Linked DNA regions of Homo sapiens: region 2 is linked to region 1. Evidence: promoter capture Hi-C in 16 types of primary human blood cells and fetal thymus (Javierre and others, 2016). All regions are on one chromosome and are shown on one strand. Each heading gives the region's core, a stretch centred on a gene start or on the middle of the fragment in contact. The rest is flanking DNA. Distances are from core to core; before and after follow the strand shown. Region 1 holds the start of GRPR (gastrin releasing peptide receptor). Region 2 has its middle 110 kb from the start of AP1S2.

Evidence for each region. The method cuts DNA at HindIII sites, captures the fragments that hold promoters and counts their contacts. A CHiCAGO score of 5 or more calls a contact.
Region 2: a fragment that was not itself captured here is called in contact with the fragment with the promoter of GRPR in region 1 in 2 of 17 cell types (total B cells and M0 macrophages); the score reaches 6.8 in total B cells.

The regions. Positions count from the first base shown.
Region 1 is chrX:16,121,327-16,125,576 of GRCh38, forward strand. It overlaps GRPR (gastrin releasing peptide receptor), which reads left to right and starts at 2,239. Exons shown (of 3, transcript NM_005314.3): 1 at 2,239-3,040. The coding sequence starts at 2,628. RefSeq lists an enhancer at 1,940-2,234. The HindIII fragment of the contact is 8,500 bases long and covers 1,286-4,250 here.
Region 2 is chrX:15,966,388-15,970,637 of GRCh38, forward strand. No RefSeq gene overlaps it. Among named protein-coding and RNA genes, the nearest start is that of AP1S2, 110 kb to the left of the region's middle. The HindIII fragment of the contact is 239 bases long and covers 1,601-1,839 here.

The sequences.
Region 1 (4,250 bases), core at 989-3,488:
AGCATCCCCTTAACTTACATTGGAAGAAACACTAACCACCCAATTAGATTTAAGTAGTGAGGCTGACTCAGCACACAGGGGTGTCTAAAGAAATAAAGGGAAACAACATCCAGAAGTTCTCTTTGTGAACCAAAAATATGCCTTTTAGACCAAACTTCTTAGCAAGAATACAAGATCCATCACAATCTCACCCAAACCTGCTTCTAGCTGCATTTCACGCTGTTCTTTTTCCACCCCTGTCTTCCAATCTGGGTGACCCTCTGGATTTATAGATGTCCCTCTGCTCAATGTCATGCTCTTTCCTTTATGCCTTGATCCTAGGCACATATGATTTTCTTCATTCAAAAGACCTTGTCAACACTTAACCTTTAAAGATATCGTCTTTTCTGGAGAAAAGGTAGTTGCTTCACTCCAGAGAGGGGTTGGGGTCTAAAGAGCTGTGAGAGTACACATCTTCATGCTATTTTTCTCAGCCTCTTGCTCAGTGCCTGGCAACTGGTAGATGTTTGATAAATTTTTTTCAAGTAAATAAAGGAGTTGCTAATTCACTCGTATGAGTGCTTGCCTATTGATCTGAGGTCAATCACTCTTCTGAACTCATTGGGCTTTTCCAAAGTAAGCCTTTCCCCCTCAATCTAATAATGATAATAATAATAAGTGCTAATATTAATTGAGCACTTACTATGTGCCAAATACTATGCAATCTTAACATGAATCATTTCATCTAACTTCATAAGTTCTCCTCACCCTGCAGATGAGGAACCTGAAGCTTAAGACACTAAGTAACTTGCCATAATTATAAATGAGGGAGCCAGGATTGAAGCAGAGCCTGTGTACTGTATCATTAAGCTATATTGCTGGCAACTAATCAACACCACTGGGCTCATGGCTATTGGCTGGTTACTGGTGCTACTGATCTCTGCCGAGAAGCTCTTCCACCTCTAGCCATGCAGCATCAGTCTCCCTCCTGCTGGCAGAGAGGGGCGCTGAGCCTTTCATATTTACATAGAAAGCATGGCAGCAGCCTCAGTGTTGGAACCTGCCACTGGAAATGTCCATAACAACACAGTTGGGGGCTTTCTTTGTGGGCCCTGGCATGGTAAGTGCAAGTTTTGTTATTCCTTATGGGTTCTGAAAAATGAGACTTCACCTGTTAGTGACTGGCTTCACGTCATGTACCTGGAGGAGCTGGCTTCACATACGTCATAAAGATGCACTCTAATAATGTATTTAGAAGTTGTTGGCTAAAGGTCTAAGCCTGATTCTAATAGCACTTCCTCAATTAAGCTTTTTCTAGCACTCCTTCAACGATAACTTACTTCTTTTACCACCCACTCAATTCCTCAGTATTGTATCTATCACGCTTTTATAGTTCTTTATTTTCCACACAGGGCTATAAAGAGGATATTTGCTATAAAACATGGCAAACATTCAATTAAAAATGCAAATAGCTGCATCAAAATGCCGATTCATAAAATTTTTAGATCAGATGAGAAAAGACCCATTTTTCTGGAAAAGACTATTGATCATTGAGAGTTAAGAATACAGCTGGTTCCCAATTTAATTTCTCCCTGGTAAACAGAATAGGAATGGCTTGGCAAATCTACAGGAAAGAACATGTGTGCATTGTGCTTCTGGCTTTTCCAGATGTCAGTTGCTGAAGGTTTAAGGTGTGAGTCTGTGCATGTGTTTCTGAGGATCAGTCCCTGTTCAAAGAGGCAGTGGGAAGACTGAGTGGGATAACTCACACATGGACACCCTGTGCATCAGTGTGCGTTTAATTCAAAGACAGACCTCATTTGATAGCAATATTGACATGTCATTCTAATGAATTAGAAAAAATGAGAAAATGGGATGTAAATCCCCATCTGGATTCATGGGGATAGTATCAGAAAGATTTTCAGTGCCTTTGCAGAATGCTAGCAACATTTATTAAATACCTACCCTAGGTGCTATGTGCTTACATGAGAAGCCAAAGGTATCTGTTAAGCTAGGTAGGAACTGCAGTCGGCTGGTTGCTTCTCATCTGGAGAAAGCAGGCAACTGGGCAGTGATTGAAGTGTCCAGCAGGGGGCTGGCATTCTCTGTCTATAAGTAACACTGGTTCCTCTTCAGAGCCTCAGCTCAGCGGAGCTGCCGTTTGCTGGTGAAGCCCGTGACGTGCAAAGCATCCTGCCTATAGGATTTGAGGATTTCTCAGTGCAGTTTTTTTCTACCCACTTTAAACCTCCAGATTCTAAATATCAGGAAAGACGCTGTGGGAAAATAGCAGGCCAAAAGTTCTTAGTAAACTGCAGCCAGGGAGACTCAGACTAGAATGGAGGTAGAAAGAACTGATGCAGAGTGGGTTTAATTCTAAGCCTTTTTGTGGCTAAGTTTTGTTGTTGTTAACTTATTGAATTTAGAGTTGTATTGCACTGGTCATGTGAAAGCCAGAGCAGCACCAGTGTCAAAATAGTGACAGAGAGTTTTGAATACCATAGTTAGTATATATGTACTCAGAGTATTTTTATTAAAGAAGGCAAAGAGCCCGGCATAGATCTTATCTTCATCTTCACTCGGTTGCAAAATCAATAGTTAAGAAATAGCATCTAAGGGAACTTTTAGGTGGGAAAAAAAATCTAGAGATGGCTCTAAATGACTGTTTCCTTCTGAACTTGGAGGTGGACCATTTCATGCACTGCAACATCTCCAGTCACAGTGCGGATCTCCCCGTGAACGATGACTGGTCCCACCCGGGGATCCTCTATGTCATCCCTGCAGTTTATGGGGTTATCATTCTGATAGGCCTCATTGGCAACATCACTTTGATCAAGATCTTCTGTACAGTCAAGTCCATGCGAAACGTTCCAAACCTGTTCATTTCCAGTCTGGCTTTGGGAGACCTGCTCCTCCTAATAACGTGTGCTCCAGTGGATGCCAGCAGGTACCTGGCTGACAGATGGCTATTTGGCAGGATTGGCTGCAAACTGATCCCCTTTATACAGCTTACCTCTGTTGGGGTGTCTGTCTTCACACTCACGGCGCTCTCGGCAGACAGGTAAGTACAGGCTGAAAGTTACATGCTCTCCAAGGGTGATAGACGCCTGGGTAAATGAACTACCATGTCGGGACAGGGAGCTGATTGCACAAGGGAAGTTTTACTCAAACACGGATTCCCTTCCAGGCAGGTTTTTATTCTGGGTATGACTTCTTGAGTGTAACATATTGGTTTAAGAAAGAAAAGTGAATGATGGGGACAGAAGGAGACAGATGAGAAAAAAAAAATCTCTAAGCAGAAAACTGAGGTGCCTTTTTCTGGAGACATATCTATTTAGCATTGCCTTTTCCTAACTTCTCCCTCCTTGCAAAATTAATTGACCAGTGAGAAAGACAATCACACCCAATAGAGTTTAAACCTCAGGCAAATGTTTTTTAGGAGCAATTGAAACCCCTCAGAGAACAGGAAAGTTCCACTGGATTTCTTCAAAACGTTCTTTCAGAAATAACCAAGAGGAGAAAATAAGCCTCATTTCTCTGAAATTCATTTTCCTCAGACAGTTTAACTTTTCTCACAGCTGATTTTGAATTTGACTCTCTGTGATAGAACAATTGTATGCCGGTTTTCCTAAGTCTCTCTTAAATGAAATCAAACATTATTTGAGTTTTTAAAATTTTCTGGAGAAAGCTCTATTCAAGGTTGATTTCTAATTTTAATATCTTTATTGACAATACTTCATATACCATGCTTTTGGGGCTTATTGTGGGGAGGAAGAGGGAGTTCACTACAGTTTTTTATTCTGGGAAATATACATATTTGCAAACTGCATTTCTTGTGTGAGCACATTGCATAAAAGTTTACGTTTATTCAGTCTTAAAACTATATATTCATTCTTTGAACATTTATCAAGTGTCTAGCATGTAAGAAACACTTACCTGAATTAGCAAGTCAAGAAATAGCTGCAGGTTGTTCACATAAATTACTGAACATACTTTATGTACTTCTGTGTTCTGGAAATTGGACATAGTAATGAATAGACTTTCAGACACAGCATAGACCATATGGTCAAACCCAGAAAAACTGCTGCAATGAACCTAGACTATAAATTTTTCACTTATAATCAACTGTATGTTATGTGTTAAAGATACAGAAGGATTTGAGAGTGTTCTGGAAAAGACATAGATGCTGCTCTTGAAAGTTTATACTCCGAAGAAAATGTCCCACATTTTAATACATGTGGTGCTGGATTCTCATTTTGTAGAGGAACAAA
Region 2 (4,250 bases), core at 470-2,969, 160 kb before region 1:
ATATTGGAGGAAACTAAAAGAATTCAGGATCCAGTTTAGTTTATAGATAGATACTAAAACCTCGAAAACAGTGAATAGGGGGCTGGGTGTGGTGGTTCATGCCTGCAGTTCCAGCACTTTGGGAGGCTGAGGCGGGAGGATTGCTTGAGCCCAGGAGTTCAAGGCTGCAGTGAGCTATGATTGCACCACCACACTCCAGCCTGGGCAACTGAGTGAGACCCCATCTCTAAAAAAACAAACAAAAAAAGCTAGAGTCTAATAATGACTGCACTACAGTCTTCTTCTGAAACATATTTTCCTCTCTGTATGGTCACCCCCATTTTTGCCAAAGACAATCGGAGTAGGATTAATTTATTTGCAAAATAAGTCTAGTCTCATTAAACTTGGCCTGATTATTTATATAAGTGCAGCAAGAATAGTGATTGACCATCTACACTCCGCTTTCCTGGAAGATTTCATATGAAATCTCAGGTTAAACTTTTAAAAGCCTCTTGAGGCTAAGAAACCAAGCCTAGGACTTGCCATCAGACTTTGCCTGCAATGCTTATTGATTTGGGTGAATTCCTCTCTTCTTTCTGTCTCCAAGGTATCTTGAGGTTCCTGGGCCTTCTAGGAAGTGGCATTCTTTACCCACCTGTAACGCTGGAAACGCATTTAAATTGGGTACCAAGGCAGTTTTTCTGGGGGGTCAGGGAATGGTTATTGTCTCCATGAAGTTAACCTTAGTTCCTTAAAAACTGATCATATCTAGTTCTATGCACATTCTCAAATATGATGTTCTAGTCAAATGCCTTGGTAATATAATCAATGTTTCCAATTATGTCCTGTTAAAAAAGAAAACAGATTCTTATTGAACTTATGCAAATAACTACATTGCCATAAAAACAGAATACCCACTAATAGCTTCTGAATTCTGGAGGGATCAGGTAGGGAGAAAAAGTCAATATTTTAATTCTCTTTACAAAAGTATAATTTGCCAAATTGTTATAAGCTATAGATAGCTTAAAATAAAAGAAAAAGTTTTCTTAAATCTAGAAAACACCTGTAATCCCAGCAGTTTGGGAGGCCAAGGCGGGTGGATCATGAGGTCAGGAGTTTGAGACCAGCCTGACCAACATGGTGAAACCCCGTCTCTACTAAAAATACAAAAATTAGCCAGGCATGGTGGCGTGTGCCTGTAATCCCAGCTACTCAGGAGGCTGAGGCAGGAGAATTGCCTGAACCCGGGAGGCGGAGGTGGTAGTGAGCTGAGATCGTGCCACTGCACTCCAGCCTGGGCAGTAGAGCGTGACTCCATCTCAAAAAAAAAAAAAAACAAACCTAGAAAAACATTAAAGAATCAGTGCAGTTTTAAACAACAAGTTTACAAGAAAACATAATTCTTTTTCAACAGTTCATTTGGTCCCATGTAATTAACTCATATTCTGCTTGATATTGGGTTAGTACTTTTATCAACCAATCAGTTTCTTCATTGGAGTTCTAGAAATTCTCCCCAGTTCAATGGTATGATCTTAGAGTTATTAGAAACCTGTACTTGTCAGAGTCCTTTCCATGAATCTCCTTGAAGATGAAACACTTCAGGGTTATAGTTGCTTGCAAAAGCTTTCATGAAAGAACCAGAGTAAAACAATTGACGGTGGATGACAAGACTTAAAATGGCAATGGTGAAAGATCAGATAAAAGTTCATTATAATGTAATTGGCAAGGAAATTTTATTTCTGTGAAATACAATATTTTGAGATAATAACTAAAATTATGACTGAAAACATTATGTCAGGATGTATCAGATTTCTAGGAGTTACATACAGTTACTGAAGTGTCATTTTAGCAACATGTAGAAGCTTTAGCATCACTTGTTATTTGACAATACTTTCCATACAATTTAACATGTAAAATAAACTTAATTAGTTTAACATCTCTCTTTGTATTAATATAAGGAGATAGAACAAATTCTTTTGTGATATTCCTGGGGCCCATCTAAAAAATCCCAAAGTTAATTTGAGGTTAAAAAGACTTAATTTAGAATTTGCCTTTGGGAGGTTGTCAAAAATGTCAAAAAGTTTAAAACAGTTGATTAAAGAAGATCACAGGTCACTGTGAAACAATAGTCATTCATGTAACCAGAGTGATAATTAAAAGACTTCAAAGGCAAATACAGAAAGTTAAATAGTTGTAGAAAAAAACCTTGGCTATTTTAGTAGAGGGGACTCAGTTTTCTTAAGTCACCAAAGACCTGATAAAAGACAACATGAAGCAAAGGAAATTATTTTGATAAGACATAAAATCTTTGTTTTCTAGCCAGCTCACTCAAAAGGTAAAGAAAACCTTTCAAGAGAAGACCAATGCTCCAAAAAACCTTTGTCCTTTTAACAGAGAGAAAACCAGCTTCTAGTTTTATACCAATGTACTTTTAATATTAAGGCTCATTTTTTTTTTTTTTTTTTGGAAACGGAGTCTCGCTCTGTCGCCCAGGCTGGAGTGCAGTGGCGCGATCTCGGCTCACTGCAACCTCCGCCTCCTGGGTTCAAGCGATTCTCCTGCCTCAGCCTCCCGAGTAGCTGGGACTACAGGCGCCCTCCACTACGCCCGGCTAATTTTTTTGTATTTTTAGTAGAGATGGGGTTTCACCGTGTTAGCCAGGATGGTCTTGATCTCCTGACCTCGTGATCCTCCCCTCTTGGCCTCCCAAAGTGCTGCGATTACAGGCGTGAGCCATCGCGCCCGGCCTATTAAGGCTCATTTTTAAAACATTTATAATACATTAATTCCATTTTAGCCATGAGATATTCTCTCTCTTTATCTCTCTCTTCCAGCTTTCTATATGCATTCAGTTTTTGTCCTTCATTCTCCTTTTTCATCCTAAAACAATCTGTCAGCCTATTTTAGCATAGAATTCATTACTCTCTTTTCTTTAGCAAAAATATATCCTCATACCTTACAACTTTCCTTATCAAAAATACATCTTATCTTCCTTGTATATAGAGCTGTTTCTCTTATAATTTCTAGTAGTTTTAATCACATGTATTAATTCGAATTCTTAACTCTTAGTCATTTTAATTTCTAAAAGTATGTGCTCCCTCATATTACCATTTTTCAATGTGGCACAGGACATGTTTGCTAATAGGCTCAAATATCTTTAGTTCTTCTTATAATAAGATGCCAAAAGTGGTAAAGCTTATGTAAGCAATTATCAGCATTTTATCTTATTTGGAAATGGTCTAGATATTCAATAGGTATCTGCTATTTAACTTACTGACACTCTAAGGGTGTAAGTTACCAAAGAGATTTGGAAATCTGCTTTTAAATAGACATATTATAAAATATAATTAACGTTAGGCTGGGCGCAGTGGCTCATGCCTGTAATTCCAGCACTTTGGGAGGTCGAGGTGGGCAGATCACTTGAGGTCAGGAGTTCAAGACCAGCCTGTCCAACATGGAGAAACCCTGTCTCTACTAAAAATACAAAAATTAACCAGGCATGTTGACTCATGCTTGTAATCCCAGCTACTCAGGAGGCTGAGGCACAAGAATTGCTTGAACCCGGGAGGCGGAGGTTGCAGTGAGCTGAGATTGTGCCACTGTACTCCAGCCTGGGCAACAGGGTGAGACTCTGTTTCAAAAAAAAAAAAAAATATATATATATATAATATAATATATAATATAATTAATATAATATAATATAATTAAAAAGCACATTTATAAATTCCATCCCACTTACATCTATTTAATTTACCTATTCATAACAATTATGCTTGGATTGCTCATGAAAATTTCATGAGACATTACACAAAGCTAGCCATCATCTCAAGTTATTTCCCTCTTAACTTTTTTACAGCATGTGCATGTTAGGCAGTCATCACCAAAGCAAGAACCTGAAAGTTAAATACATGTTTTTTTTCTGCTGTGCTTGATATACATGGAGTAATGAGCACTACACATCCACTTGCACATTTGTTCTTAGGTTGATCTCATAGTTTCATAATCTTAAACCTCTAGTAAAGATAACATAAACTTATTTGAGTAGTGAATCCAGGTAGAACAAGAATAAAAATGTTAATTTTCATATTATTTTTAAAGCGGATAACTTGTAAGACACAGCTGTTTTTATTAAACCAACAATGTTGAACTAGTCTTATTTACTAAAGATTTACCCATGTCATGTGAACTTGAAAAGTTTTTGGGTTAGTTCCTATATTTCTAGAAGTTTTAAGAATATGTAATTTACACTTATTTTTCTTTAAGCCAACTAA